Linked DNA regions of Homo sapiens: region 1 is linked to region 2. The links are contacts of gene promoters, found by promoter capture Hi-C in blood cells and fetal thymus (Javierre and others, 2016). All regions are on one chromosome and are shown on one strand. Each heading gives the region's core, a stretch centred on a gene start or on the middle of the fragment in contact. The rest is flanking DNA. Distances are from core to core; before and after follow the strand shown. Region 1 overlaps APOL6 (apolipoprotein L6). Region 2 holds the start of HMGXB4 (HMG-box containing 4).

Region 1 (6,710 bases), core at 3,501-6,000, 400 kb before region 2:
AAATAGCCTTAAATTTTTGCACATTAAAGGAAACAACCCAGGTGAAAATCAAATAGCAAAATTTACATGATAAGGTACAGAGAGGAAAAGTCTGGTGGTGTTAGAGGGAGATGCTTTTATTTTTCTTTGAGCGATATTAAACATAAAACGAAACTACATTCTTCCTTAACCCAAGAGTAGCCTCTGTTGCAATAGCTATTTTAGTCAAAAAATCCGGTGAAAACAGAATTCAGTCAACTGAGAAGTAAAAGGAAAAAAAAAAAAAAAACTTTTGCTACAAAAAAAAGACAAGGTCTTAGGAGAGAAAAACAAACAAGAAACAAAAACATGAAGGCCTTTCAAATACAAACATGCACAAAACACACATCATGGATGTTACTGTTTCAGTTAAGCAGACTTTCAACCACTGAGCTTCTTTAAAAACTTAAAAAAAAAATCTTATTACCAAATCTCAGCTAGGACAAAGTGTTGCTATTTCAGAAGTACAGCCATTGCTCTTTGAGTTTGGTCTGGCTAGCAAAAAGCTGGCTGTGTTATGTAAATAAAGCCCCTATAGTAATTAAAATTTAAAAAAAGTTTTTTAAGCTGGCTGTTTTCCTACCACTTCAGAGTCCTTGACCCCGTAATTTAGGGTTCCCCTTCAGATTTGACTAAGACAGAAACAAACAACAAAACAGTTAAGCAAAACTAACAATGGTCACACAAATTATACAATTTCTGAGTGCTCTAAGTGCATTGGAAGAAAGCTGAAACTCCATAAAAACATCACCTGCCTTCCATCATCATGAAAGCAGGAAAACTTGCCTTCCTTGTTGGGAGCAAGTAAAACTCCAAAAAAAGAGGTGTTGTACAGCAAAATAAACTTCCGATCTCTACCAAATTTTAAGAGATCAGGGATTTTCTGGAGGGAGTCCTCTCAGACCTCAGCAAATTGTCCTATTGGTTTGAGCCATAAAGTTAGCTCATGCTGGTACCAAGCACCGATAGATTTGTCAAGGGTCAGGGGCATCTCCACCCAGAATCCATTCATGGTTTCCAAAATGTGAACCCAGAAAATCCGAGACAGGTCTCAGTTAATTTAGAAAGTTTATTTTGCCAAGGTTGAGGACACACTGTGACACAGACTCAGGAAGTCCTGATGACATGTGGCCAAGATGGTTGGGGCATACCTTGGTTTTATACATTTTAGGGAGACATAAGACATTAATCAATATATGTAAGAAGAACATTGGTTCAGTGGGGAGGGAGCTTCCAGGTCACAGATAGGTGAGACACAAACAGTTGCATTCTTTTGAGTTTCTGATTAGCCTTTCCAAAGGAGGCAATCAGATATGTATCTATCTCAGTGAGCAGAGAGATAACTTTGAATAGAGTGGGAGGTGGGTTTGCCCTAAGAAGTTTCCCTAAGCTTGAGTTTTCCTTAGTGATTCTGGGGCCCCAAGATATTTTCCTGTCACAGTTGACATCCCCAACACAGTGTTTAGGGCTCAGAAAAAGATACCCTAAAATAGGGTGCTTTGGCATGCTGAGTGCTTTGAATAAAGGAGACTGAAGGGCCTCAGAAATAAGAGAACAAAGGTCTATCTCTGACCCACTGCTGCCCACCTCCCTTCCCTTCCAAAGCACAGGGAGGGATTTTCTTTGAAGTTCTCTTATTTGATTAAGGGAAGTTTCTCCAGAAGGAAGGTAATTGTCCTGGACACCCCTTCCTGGAATCTACATCGATCAGAGAAGATTAACTCATATTGCAGGACAGGAGAATAATTAAAAGTTGCTCAAGACAGCACACCTAGATAGACTTTTTGCTTATTCTTTCAACTATAGTTATGTGTCCAATAACAATGTTTCGGTCAACTGCATATACAACCATGGTTTGATAAGATTTATAGTGGACTTGAAAAATTCCTATTGCCTAATATACTGAAGGAAGAAAATGTTTTAATATGCATTTTGTGTACCCTAAGTGTGCTGTGTTTATAAAGCCTACAGTAGTATACAGTAATGCCCTAGGCCTTCACATTCATTCACCACTCACTGACTCATCTGGAGCAACTCTCAGCCCTGCAAGCTCCATTCGTAGTAAGTGCCCTGTACAGGAGAGCCAATTCTTATCTTTTATGCCATATTTTTACTTTCCTTTTTCTCTGTTTACATATGTTTAGATACACAAATATTTCCCATTGTGCTGCAATTGCCTATAGTATTCAGTAGTCACATGCTGTACAGGTGCGTAGCCTGGGAGCAATAGGCTCTCCCATATAGCCTAGGTATGCAGTAGGCTATGCCATCTAAGTTTTGTATAAGTACAATCTGTGATAATCACACTACAATGCAATTGCCTAATGACACATTTATCAGAATGCGTCCCTGTCACCAAGAGATACATGACTGTATTCTTCTTCTTTTTTTTTTTTTTTTTTTTTTTTGAGATGGGGTCTCATTCTGACACCCAGACTGGAGTGCAGTGGCATGATCTTGGCTCACTGCAACCTTTACAGCCTGGGTTCAAGCGATTCTCCTGCCTCAGCCTCCCGAGTAGATAGGATTACAAGTGCCCTGCCACTACACCTGGCTAATTTTTGTATTTATAGTAGAGACAGGGTTTTGCCATGTTGGCCAGGCTGTTCTCAAACTCCTAACCTCAGGTGATCCAGCTTTATTAGTGTAATTACACTTTATCAGTGTAATAAGGCAAACTTTGCTCACCACAGACTTCCTCCCCCTACCCCCTCCCACAGCCTGTGTCACTACCTCCCCATCAGAGGCCTCACTTCCTGTAGCTTGGGGTGTTATTTAAGCTTCTGCCATCTGGCCCACATTAAAAAATGTATATGCTTTTTCTCCTGTTAATCTGTCTATTGTCAGCTTGTTTTATAGATTCAAATTCTTAAACCTTCAAGGTCTAGAAAGGAAGTTCCTTCTACCCCTCCAATAGTATAAAGAAGTGGAGCCTTTTGGTAGGTGATAGAGTCATGAGGGCCCTGCCTTTAGGCATAGAGTTAGTGCCTTTATAAAAGAGGCCCAGGGGGGCTTGTTTGCCCCTTCTGCCATGTGAGAACACAGCAAGACAGTGCCATCTGTGAAGCAGAGAGTGAGCCTTCACGAGATGTGGAATCTGCTGGTGCCTTGATTTTAGACTTCTCAGCCTCCAGAACTGTGGATCTCTGGATACATCTCTGTTGTTTGTAAATTACCCAGTCTAAGGTATTTTGTTATAGCAGCACAAACAGACTAAGACACTTGGCGAGTGACATAACCTGTCTGGCTTAGTCATCTTTGGTTGCTATAACAAAATAGTAACAAACTACTATAGATTGAGTTGCTTACACCACAGAAATTTATTGTTTCACAGTTCTAGAGGCTGGAAGTCCCAGACTGACTGACTTATTCAGTTCCTGGTGAGGGCTCTCTTCTTCTGCCTTGCAGATGGCTGCCTTCTTGCTGCATCTGCAAATAGCCTTCCTTCAGTGTAGGTGTGCAGCAGGGGTGGGGAGGCCCTCTTGTATTTCCTCCTCCTCTTATAAAGAAGTCAATTCCATCGGGTTAGGACCTCACCCTATGGCCTCAGTCAACCCTAATTACCTCCCAAAGGGTCCATCTCTAAATACAGCCACATTTTGGTTTAGGACTTCAACATATGAATTGGGAGGAGGAGACAATTTAGTTCCTAACTCCGCCTGTGGCTCTGTGACCTCTTTGTTAAAACTGGGAAGACCCGGCTGGGCAGGGTAGCTCACGCTTGTAATCCCAGCATTTTGGGAGGCCAAGGTGGGTGGATCACTTGAGGTCAGGAATTCGAGACCAGCCTGGCCAAAATGGTGAAACCCTGTCTCTACAAAAAAATACCAAAATTAGCTGGGCGTGGTGGTGCGTGCCTGTAATCCCAGCTACTTGGGAGGCTGAGGCAGGAGACTTGCTTGCACTCAGGAGGCAGAGGTTGCAGTGAGCCGAGATTACGCCACTGCACTCCAGCCTGGGCAACAGAGACCCTGTCTCAAAACAAACAAACAAACAAACAAACAAACAAACAGGGAAGACCCTTTTCCCAGCACATAGGCCTTAAGGAGCATTGAAGGAGAAACAGAAGGCATGCCGAGGTCTGTCCAGGACAGGCACCCTCATCTCCAAGATGTACTTGATATTATTTGGACCTCCAAGGCCATTGTATGCCATGTCCTGAGGAACATTCATGTAAACTGTACATACACACAGACACACAGACACACACACAGCCACAGCCACATCCACACATGCTCCCTTAACTCCTTCCAGTAAGCCTCGGTTTCGCAGGTCCCAGTTAAATCCTTCCCCACCCCTCTGGCCCTTGACCTCACTTTCTGCTGCAAGCTCTTGTAGAGCTGGGTGAGTTCTGTGAGTTTCCTCTCCAGCTCCAAGGCCTTGGCTCTCAACTCTTCCGCAAACTTTGTCCTTGCTCCTTCCTTCAGGTGCTTCCATTCCTTTGAGAGAGTGGCCAAGTCATAGCCAAGGGAGAAGGCGGACATCACACCTCCCAGCACGCGAGCATTTTTGGTCATCGCCAGTGTTGTTCCCGCAAAGGCCTTTTGCACCTGCACGCGGCTCCGGGAGGAGACTTGGCCAGTGGTCAGAAGACGCTTGGTAGCATTGGCCAAGCGTGGGTTGGCTCTGAGTTTCCAAAATGCACGGACGTTTTTCTTGGCATACTTCAAGGTGTTTCTAAGATTATAGATAATCTTTCCAGCAGCTGTGACATAGTCTGCCTTCTCTTCCTCATCCTCCCTGTCCTCTTGGTCGTAGGTGGGCAGTATGTCTTCCGCCCGTGCTTGGGCTTCTTTATTTTTGGAGCGTTCCAACGTACCACTCACGATGCTGGTGACCCCAGCTGCTGTTGCCAAACCTTGACCAGCGGTGGAGAGCAGCAGGCTTCCTCCTCCTGTTGCTGGGGCAAGGGCTAAACCCAGGAGGCTCATCACTCCAGAGATGACAGCAGTAGAGGTGGCCACCATGTTAGCCTTGGTGAATTTCTTGTGGGTTTTGTCAATATCGTCTGCGAGGGCACGGAGCTTGTCAATGTTCCCTTTCAGATCTTCTTTCAATCTGGGAAATTCTCTCAAAAATATTTTTTCTTCGGGGGACAGATCTCCGTCTTGTAGCTCCACGTCTTCACACAGAGGAGCGTCATCCTCATCCCTGAGGAGAAATGAAATAAAGATTTTGCTTCAGCTTCCCAGATGGGAAAACCCATGTGGCTCTTGGATATTCTTGCCACTCTCAGCTTCGAATCCTCCCTGTACCTCCCTACAAAATCCCCTGAAAAGTCCTAGAGCATTGTAGAGTAGTTCAGCCTTCGCTGAAAACTACTGGTTCCATGGAAAAAAGAAACACATAAGAGGGGCATGTGGAAGGACAAATGTGAATCACCCCAGCCTTGGTCAAGGAATGGGGAAGGAAAATTAAGTCCTGAGGTATGTTTTCAGCCTTGTTCAGAGAAAGCACAGCACTGCTGCAGAGGAGGGGCAGTGGGGAAATGTTAAAACCCCACTCAAGATAAAGAACTTGGGAACAATGGCGGGAGAGTTCTGGGAAAAGTAGGAGAAAGAGAAGACAAGGTGGTGGGCAGGGGATGAGCGTCCCAGATGTGTAGAAGTGAGTAGGAGGGTGGAGGGGGCCATATTGCATCATACATCCTCCACTCTAATGACCTCGAATCTGGTTACTCTGGGGTGTGTCTTTGCTTCTATCAGGAGTTGCACATTGAGAGTTGAGATAAATTATTATTCATGTCCTGAATGCTCTCCTTGCTCTTGGTCAGCTTTACTTGACCCTTCAAGCAGATGGGATTAGTCCTTCATGGAAGAAGTTTGGGACAAAGAGACCTAGGCCCCTCTTCCTCCAACATTTTACAGGATGAAGTACGAAGGGATCTTTGCCAGGCCAGTTGGCTTTGACCTTCAAGGCAGAGCTGCATCAGGGTGAGAGCAAAGCCTGCTGCTTGGGGCATTTTCTCATGCAAGGTGCCATTTGTGCATTTCCTTCAGGGTGAGCCGAGGAGGCCTGGTGATAACAGATGCCCTGGCCCAAAGAAGAACATCAGAGCTGGAGGGAGGCCTGGAGAGGATCTGGGCCACCTCCTTTATGATTCAGTGGGGGGCCTCAAGCCCAGAGAGAAAAGAGGACACTCCCAAAGGAACATGCAAGGTAAAGATGGAGCATTGGGTGGGCTCTGAGTCCTAAACTTGGTGCTTTCTGCCTTTCCTCTCACCTGTCAGTTGATGTCAGGGCCTCCTCATTGAAGTATATGTATGTCCATAAATGTATTTATCTTTAAATCTCTCTTTCCACACACACACGCACACAATTCCTCAGTGGGAAAGATTAGAAACTAAATATACCATCGAGCATATGTTTTAAGTGTTAATGAATTAATAAATTTAGGCACAATTATCTATTAATCCACAGGTGTAAATCAGTTAACAGAGCAGAAGGTCACCAGGGCTTGCAATGGGGAAGGGGTGGGATGAAGGCAAGCGGGGTGGCCCTGACAAAGAACCCCAGACATAAAAGATGCCATAGGTTAGCCCACCCTGATCTCTGTGTTTCCTCAAGGTATGCTAGACAAAAAGAAACAGCAAATAGATATGTAGCTGCAAAGATCAACAACGCCACTGTGTATGAACTGTAAAGTTTTTGGTTTTAGCATGGTTGATAACTAACAGAAGCTTGACTTCATG
Region 2 (7,045 bases), core at 1,310-3,809:
AATAAGTACCTCTGAAGACAGAAAGAAAGAAAGATGACTGTATCGTGGTCTCGTTACTGGCTGCTTTAAAAAACTAGTGGATTAAAAAGTTGTGAGAGGGAATAGAAAATTAGGAACTGCTTCTCAGAGGCACAGGCCAACCAAGAAAATGTGGTGTTGGCATTACATATATTAGGTCTACCACTGTTTAAATTTTCTTAAAAACACTGAAGAGCATTTTATAAATTACTGGATTAAATAACCTGAAGAAAAAAGAAGGAATGAGGCCTGAAGACACGTCCAATTCACTGAAGAACTGGGGCAGCCAAGAGCTTGAAAAACTAAAATTAAACACAACGGACTGTATCAGCCACAGCTTGGGCAGACCGATGGGCCCTGAATTTCTACGTTCTTTAAAATCAGGATATTATTGCAGCTCAGGGTTTAGTTTTGGAAAGATACCAGATAAATCTCAAGCAACAGTGTGAAAGAAAGGCAGAGTTCAGGCAACATTTATATAAGATCAGATGAACCCCTGATATTCCTTCCAGGTCTTGAATACAATCTGTGAAAATTCAGAGTTCAGGGGTAGAGAGTAGATTGTGAGGATTAATGAAAATGAATATTAGGTTTGATTTTCACATTAGAAAAGGGAGGTCATAATTACATTAAATGTTGGCAAATGTGAAACAGGTGTTAAAACCCAGTCTCAATTCAATAATTTGGGAGTTTATAAAATTCAATGTTGTCAACTCCAAGAGGCAAGAATAATTTTGTTTGTCTCAGTGTGCTAAGATATGACAACATAAGTAAAAGTTCACTATTTCATACTGTTGATACAAGTAAAAAACTGGTACCATAAAAATGTATACTTATGAAATGCACAAATTGTTAAATAGCTCTTCGGGGACTTTTCTTCAGGATATGAAAAAGGAGGGGGCAGAGTTGCTCTTTCCCTGGTAGATAAGCATACAAGTTATGTTCAGGCATAGGCCTTTGGGATGACCAAAGTAATCAGGAGGAAAAAGTCCTCAGATATAGCACTTTGTCATTTTGAAACTTCAAATTACAGTTAAAAAACAGGTTTCAGACTTTTTTTGAGGTAACTTGAGCTCCTGCAATCAACAACCTTCTTCACCCCATAATGTAAATGAGTATCGAAAAAAAGGAAACAAAGTAAGCCCCGTCACACGGACAGTAAGAGAAATTCTGAACTCCAGGTCTGTTCCAGGATGAGAGCCATGTCCAAGATTCTGCATTCTCTTCTTCCAACCACTCCTTTCAAGAACTCAAAATGCCAGTCAGTGCAGGTAAAGGAAGATGCACATCCGCCGGTTGCCAATTTCTGAAATTTTCTTGTTACTTCTACGATACAGACAAGTGATGCCTTCTCAACTTCGTCCAGGTTTCTTCCAATCTCCGAACACGGTGACTCCGAATCCTCTTGCCACTCCCTTCTCCAGGGACCTACCTAGGCAGCACTCCCAGCCCCTGCCAGCTCTGGAAGCTGCAGAGATCCCGACAGTCGGGGATGGGGATTGAATCCTCTCATTGCAGTGCAATTAAGCGGAACCACGACCACCGCACAGATTGGCTGACAACACACATTCCATAAGACCAGCAATCGAATTTTGAGAAGCCTTGTCCAATCAACAGGCTTTATTTGGGATTCAGTTTTTTACTTTGTTCTATTAGGAGGAAATATAATCAGCCACCAGCTTAGCCCTCCAAAAGAGGGGACAGAGATGTTTCTCCGCTTTTGCACGCTATAAAGTGAATCTACAAGTAGTAGTTGGTGGAGGGAAAATGGGCCTGCATGGAGAAGGCGCCCACCACGAAGGCACGGCCAAGCCGGGTTGCACGCAAGAAACACACAAAATACCAGGTGATTTACACAAACAGCCCCCAGGACCACCATTTTTGTGGTCCCCAAGGCAAACCAGTGGGATTCTCCCGGCAGTTTTGCGGCAACAGCTAGCTCAACAAAGCTCTGTGAAGAGGAAAAGAAGAAAGCTCCTCGTACTTTCTCCTGCCAGCCGCAGCCCCAGCCCTCCCGTGGCCGCGGCCACGAGCCCTTTCCCCCTGACAGCCCGAGGGACCCCCGCATCGCGGGTTCCGAGCCGCACAGCTCGACCTGAACCCGGGTTCCCGCGTCTCCGGCGGCCTCACGGCGCCCCCGAGGGCGGAGACGGCCCGGGCAGGGGGAGGGGCGGCCCGGGTCCGCAGGCCCCCGGGGCGGCCGCACGCCCCCTCCCGGCCCCGCAGCTTTCCCGCCTTCCCCGTTTGAACAGCTCCCGCCCGCCCTCCTCCTTCTGCCCGCTCCAGCCCCTTCCTGGGGGCGGCTGCGGCCGCTACTCCAGTCCCCGGCTCGGCCCCTGGGCTAGGCCGCGAAGGGCCTGGGGCACCCCAGAGGTGATGTCGCGGGCCCAGGGCGGCGGGTGGCGACGGGGCGGGGCTGCTGCCGCCTCAGGGTGGGGGCCCAGCCCGGTCTCCTGGGGTCTCCGCTCGCCGCTACCTTCACTCGGCTCGCCCGGATCCCGCCTCAACGCCGCCGATCGCCGCCATCTTGGAGAAGGAGAGAAAAGCGCGAGCGGCCAGGGAGCCTCAGTCGAGCCCAGAGCGCAGACTCGGGCTCCGGAGGGGGAATCCCGCTCGACCAAGAGCGCCGAGCGCATCGAATAAAACTCGGAGCCTGCTGAGCGCGGGAGCTGGCACTTATTTATTGAGAATTTGCTATGTCCCAGCCTTGCCCTAGAAGCTTACAAACATTATTTCACTTAATCCTCACTGTATTCCTGTCGCATTTTGCAGAAGAGAACCAGGCTGAGAGAAGTTAAGTGACGTGCCCAAGGATACACAGGTAGTTGGAATGTGAGACCGAGTATTACTCCAAGTCTTCTGATTCTGAATGCAGTGCTTTCCCCAAAATACTATGCTGTTTCTTTCAAGATATTGTTATACAGCAGTTCTCCTCTTTGCAACACCTAGATCTATGCAGATTAATAGCAGTGTGCTTATTTGGACTTCAGCATCTACATTTGAACATTTGGCATATTAGGGGTGAGGTGAAGAACTTATCTTTGTAACAATGTACAGTAAAATAATTTGCATGGCGAATCATCTACATTTTTTAGTTAGAAACAGTCTTCAGAGAGAGAGAGGAAGAGATGTCATATACAGGCGAGAACACAATTTTTCTGATTTGCCATTGAGAACTTCGACCAATGAGTAGAAATTACAGTGTATAGAACTTGGTTTGATATGAAGAAGAACGCCAGGGGCGGTGGCTCACGCCTGTAATCCCAGCACTTTGGGAGGCTGAGGTGGGTGGATCACCTGAGGTCAGGAGTTCGAGACCAGCCTGACCAATGTGGTGAAACCCCGTCTCTACTAAAAATACAAAAAATTAGCCAGGCGTGGTGGCGCGTGCCTGTAATCCCAGCTACTTAGGAGGCTGAGGCAGGAGAATCGCTTGAACCCGGGAGGCGGAGATTGCAGTGAGCCGAGATTGCGCCACTGCACTCCAGCCTGGGGGACAGAGTGAGACTCCATCTCAAAAAATATATATATATATGAAGAATAACTTATTTTTCTAGTACAGTTCAGTAGTACAATGGGCTTCCTTGTGAGTAGTGAGCTCCCTCCCACTGGAGGAGCGCTCAAGCAGAAGCTGGTGTTACTGTAAAGCAGAGAAGTTAGAGATGTAGATTGGCTTCTAGAGTTGTGAACCCCATGCAACGTAAAATCATGTGTGCAGTGTGTGTTTTCCTAGGGCCCAGGCCCCATAAAAAATTAAGAACCTCTGTCCTAGTGTATTTTCCATTGCAGAGTTGGGTGAGTGCTTGAAGACGAGGTAGTCATGAGACCAATAAAAGCAAGGTGATTTGTCTGAGACCACACTCTAATCAGTGATCAGATAAAGATGAAAAGCCAGATTGTTAGACTCTGGTTCAGTGCTCTTTTTGCTATATCATGCTCTCTCCCCCTCTGCACTGAGTAGAAGATTGATTCTGTTTCTTACAACTGTGAGATGCTGAGATGTTAAAACACCTGAGATAAAGTTGCTGAAATCATTTGCAAAATGTAACTGCAAATACTTAATAAAAGTAGCATGGCCTTTTTCTCCGCAGCTCCCATCCTACTCACCAAAAAGACAGGCAATGAGTTTCACCAAAAGGTGTTAGATTGCATTTCTGGGACACCCTGCCTGACGTTAGGCTTCCCTTTGAGGCATTTAAGAGCCCTAATGATGTATTTCCTTTTTGTTCTTCAGAGCCCTAAATCCATTGGTCAGGATGATTTCAGTTGTGACAGAAACCCATTTCCATGTGTTTCCCCAGAAGAGGGGAATTTATTGGCTCACATGATTGAAATTTCCAGTACCTGCAGACATGGTCACTTCCAGGGAGGTAACTCAAGCTGGTCCTTTGACGTGTCTGTGGTGCTCTCCTCTGTTAGCTTTATTCTCAGATTCAGGTGATGACTCCAGCAGCTCCAAGCTTCATCATCTTTCCTGCTAGCAGTGTCCCTGTGGAGGGAGGTTTTGTTTGTTTGTTTTGAGACAGGGTCTTTCTCTGTCACCCAGGCTGGAGTGCAGTGGCACGATCACAGCTCACTGCAGCTTCGACCCCCTGAGTTCAAGCAATCCTCCCACCTCAGCCCCCCAAGTAGCTGGGACCACAGGTGCATGCCACCATGCCCAGGTACTTTTTGTATTTTTTGTAGAGATGGGTTTTTTTTGTTGTTTTTTTTTTACCATGTTGCCCAGGCTGGTCTCAAGCTCCTGGACTCAAGCAATCCTCCTGCCTTGGCCTCCCAGAGTGCTGGGATTACAGATGTGAGCCACCATGCCTGGCCCTGGAAGGAGTTTCTTTTTCCCTTTTGCTTTGGCAAAAGTCATGGGATTGATTCTTATTGCCTGAATTAGATCATGTGTCCAGACAAAAAGCAATCACTATGAGTAAAGGTGTGGAGTCTGCTGCTGCTGCTGATTGGTTAAATTAGGTCATCTGCTTACCTCCAAAATTAGGTTGGGGTAGACACAAAGAAAATCAAGGGTTGCTGTCAGAAGGGTGAGTGCATGTTAGGTAGGCAAAAACAGTAGCTGTCCCCACACTCTACCACTAGCTTGGACCTAAAAGCCTTATGAGTCCTATTGGTCCCATTTCTTCTTTTAGTCCACCTGAAGATGGAGCATATCAAGTTCTTGCTCATTTTAAGCTCCTGGAGACCTGAAGTCAGATCTCTCCTCAGCCTACTCACTCAATCACAAAATGCTATTAACTTGCTCCCAGTCTTGGATCATTGCACTTCCATTTATTAAACAGATATTTATTGAAAACACAGCATGTGGCAGGTACTGTCTTAAGTGTTGGGAATAGAACAGTGAACAGAATTGAGAGTCCTTGGCCCCCAGGAGCTTACATTCCGGTTGGGTTGGGGGACACAAAATTAAGATATGAATACTACATTCAGTGATAATCAGAGGTGGAGAAAATAATGCCAGGTTGGCTACGAGAGTACCAGCAGGGGATGTGGGTAGGAACAGCTTGTTCTTTAAAACAGTAATCAGGGAGGCTTCTCTGTTGAGGTGCACACCGGAGCTAGCTCAGCCAGAAGTGGGTTGGTGGTGGGAGCCAGGAGATCATAGTTCCTTGAATGTATTCAAGTGCTTCCTCTGTACCTTGCTGGAAAAGTATTCTTTGCTGACTATCTTTCATAGTTCTCTTGCATTTTTGAAACTTGGAAAGACAGAAAAGAGGACCCTCTGGGCAGGCCTAGTCATGGTGGGGTTTGTGAATAAGAATGCCTTTTCCCATGGCAAGTGAGGATAGCATCTAGCATATGTGAAGAGGGGGCACTCCCTAAGTGTGGGGCAGTTCTCTGGTCCACCTGATCTAAGGAAAACTGCCTGGTGCCTGGCAGCAACAGGTGGGGCCTGTCAAATTGTGCTTGGTTTGGACATCTCTTTCTTCAGGCCACTTTTCTGTGCTCTTCTCTTTCCAGATGTGTTTTGAGCAGCGTCTTTGTCTTCGGTCTGATGGGAGGATGCCATCCTGGGTACATACATTAGGCCAGGGCCTTTTGCTAGAAGTGACAGGACCTAATTAAAACTACCTTAAGAGACAGGCAGAGGGACATACCACAGATTCTCAGTCTGTGTGTATGCCCTAAATTGCAAAATTAAAAAAATAAAGAGACCAGTAGAAAATATGTAACTCATGTAAAAAACAAAACAAAACAAAAACTACTCAGAGCCAGAGAGAAGCAGGCCCTCTGGACAGCTGGGTCCGGGGATTCAAATCCTTCCCTCTTAACTCTGTTCTCTCAGGCTGGCAGTCCCTAGGGGCCTGGAATCATGGCCACAGGTAGCCCAGGCTTACATCTTTATAGTCTCCTGACCAGAGAGGAAAGAGCATGTTCCCACATCAGCAACACACATACACACACACACACGCGCGCGCGCGCGCGCACAAAATCCAAGAGAAGAACTCCAATTGGCTGGGATGGGGTCATGTGATCATTCAGTATTGTGATAGTTCCTGGGATACCACAAAGTTGCAATAGGACATTAGTCCTTCTATAAAAGAAAGGGGATCTATTCTGGGAAGACAAATAATAAATGTCCCCTATGGTGAAGCAATGATACTTGTTTTCCTGCTTTTGAGCAACTTATTATCTTCTGTGTGTATGTGTGTTTTGTGGGCAATGTAAAACAAGTCTAAGTCCATAATTACTATGGTACAAATGTAAAAGAAAAATGTGCCCCAATAGATGGGCCATCTCTCATTGGGCTATTACAATAGCTTCCTAATGGATTTTTATCTTCAGGGCCCCTTCCCCACTTCGAAGTCCATCCGCCATTGCTGTCAGGATAAAGCACTGCTAACATGAGCTTATACTTCAGCTAATGACTTTTTTCTTTTTTTTTTTTTTTTTTGAGATGGAGTTTTGCTCTTGTCGCCCAGGCTGGAGTGCAGTGGCATGACCTCGGCTCACTGCAACCTCCGCCTCCCGGATTCAAGCGATTCTCCTGCCTCAGCCTCCCAAGTAGCTGGGATTACAG

What was found. Contacts are between HindIII fragments. The CHiCAGO score rates a contact against its expected background, and 5 or more counts as called.
Region 1: a contact is called between a fragment that was not itself captured here and the fragment with the promoter of HMGXB4 in region 2, in 1 of 17 cell types (naive CD4 T cells). The highest score is 5.6, in naive CD4 T cells.

The regions. Positions count from the first base shown.
Region 1 is chr22:35,657,074-35,663,783 of GRCh38, reverse strand. APOL6 (apolipoprotein L6) reads right to left here. Exons shown (of 3, transcript NM_030641.4): 3 at 1-5,169. The coding sequence ends at 4,188. Among named protein-coding and RNA genes, the nearest start is that of APOL6, 12 kb to the right of the region's middle. RefSeq lists an enhancer at 2,826-2,935. The HindIII fragment of the contact is 3,900 bases long and covers 2,801-6,700 here.
Region 2 is chr22:35,253,007-35,260,051 of GRCh38, reverse strand. It overlaps HMGXB4 (HMG-box containing 4), which reads right to left and starts at 2,559. Exons shown (of 11, transcript NM_001003681.3): 1 at 2,495-2,559. It overlaps LOC105373017 (a long non-coding RNA gene), which reads left to right. Exons shown (of 4, transcript XR_938210.3): 1 at 1-1,864; 2 at 2,791-2,839. RefSeq lists a silencer at 2,000-2,499 and an enhancer at 2,765-3,265. The HindIII fragment of the contact is 10,131 bases long and covers 1-2,739 here.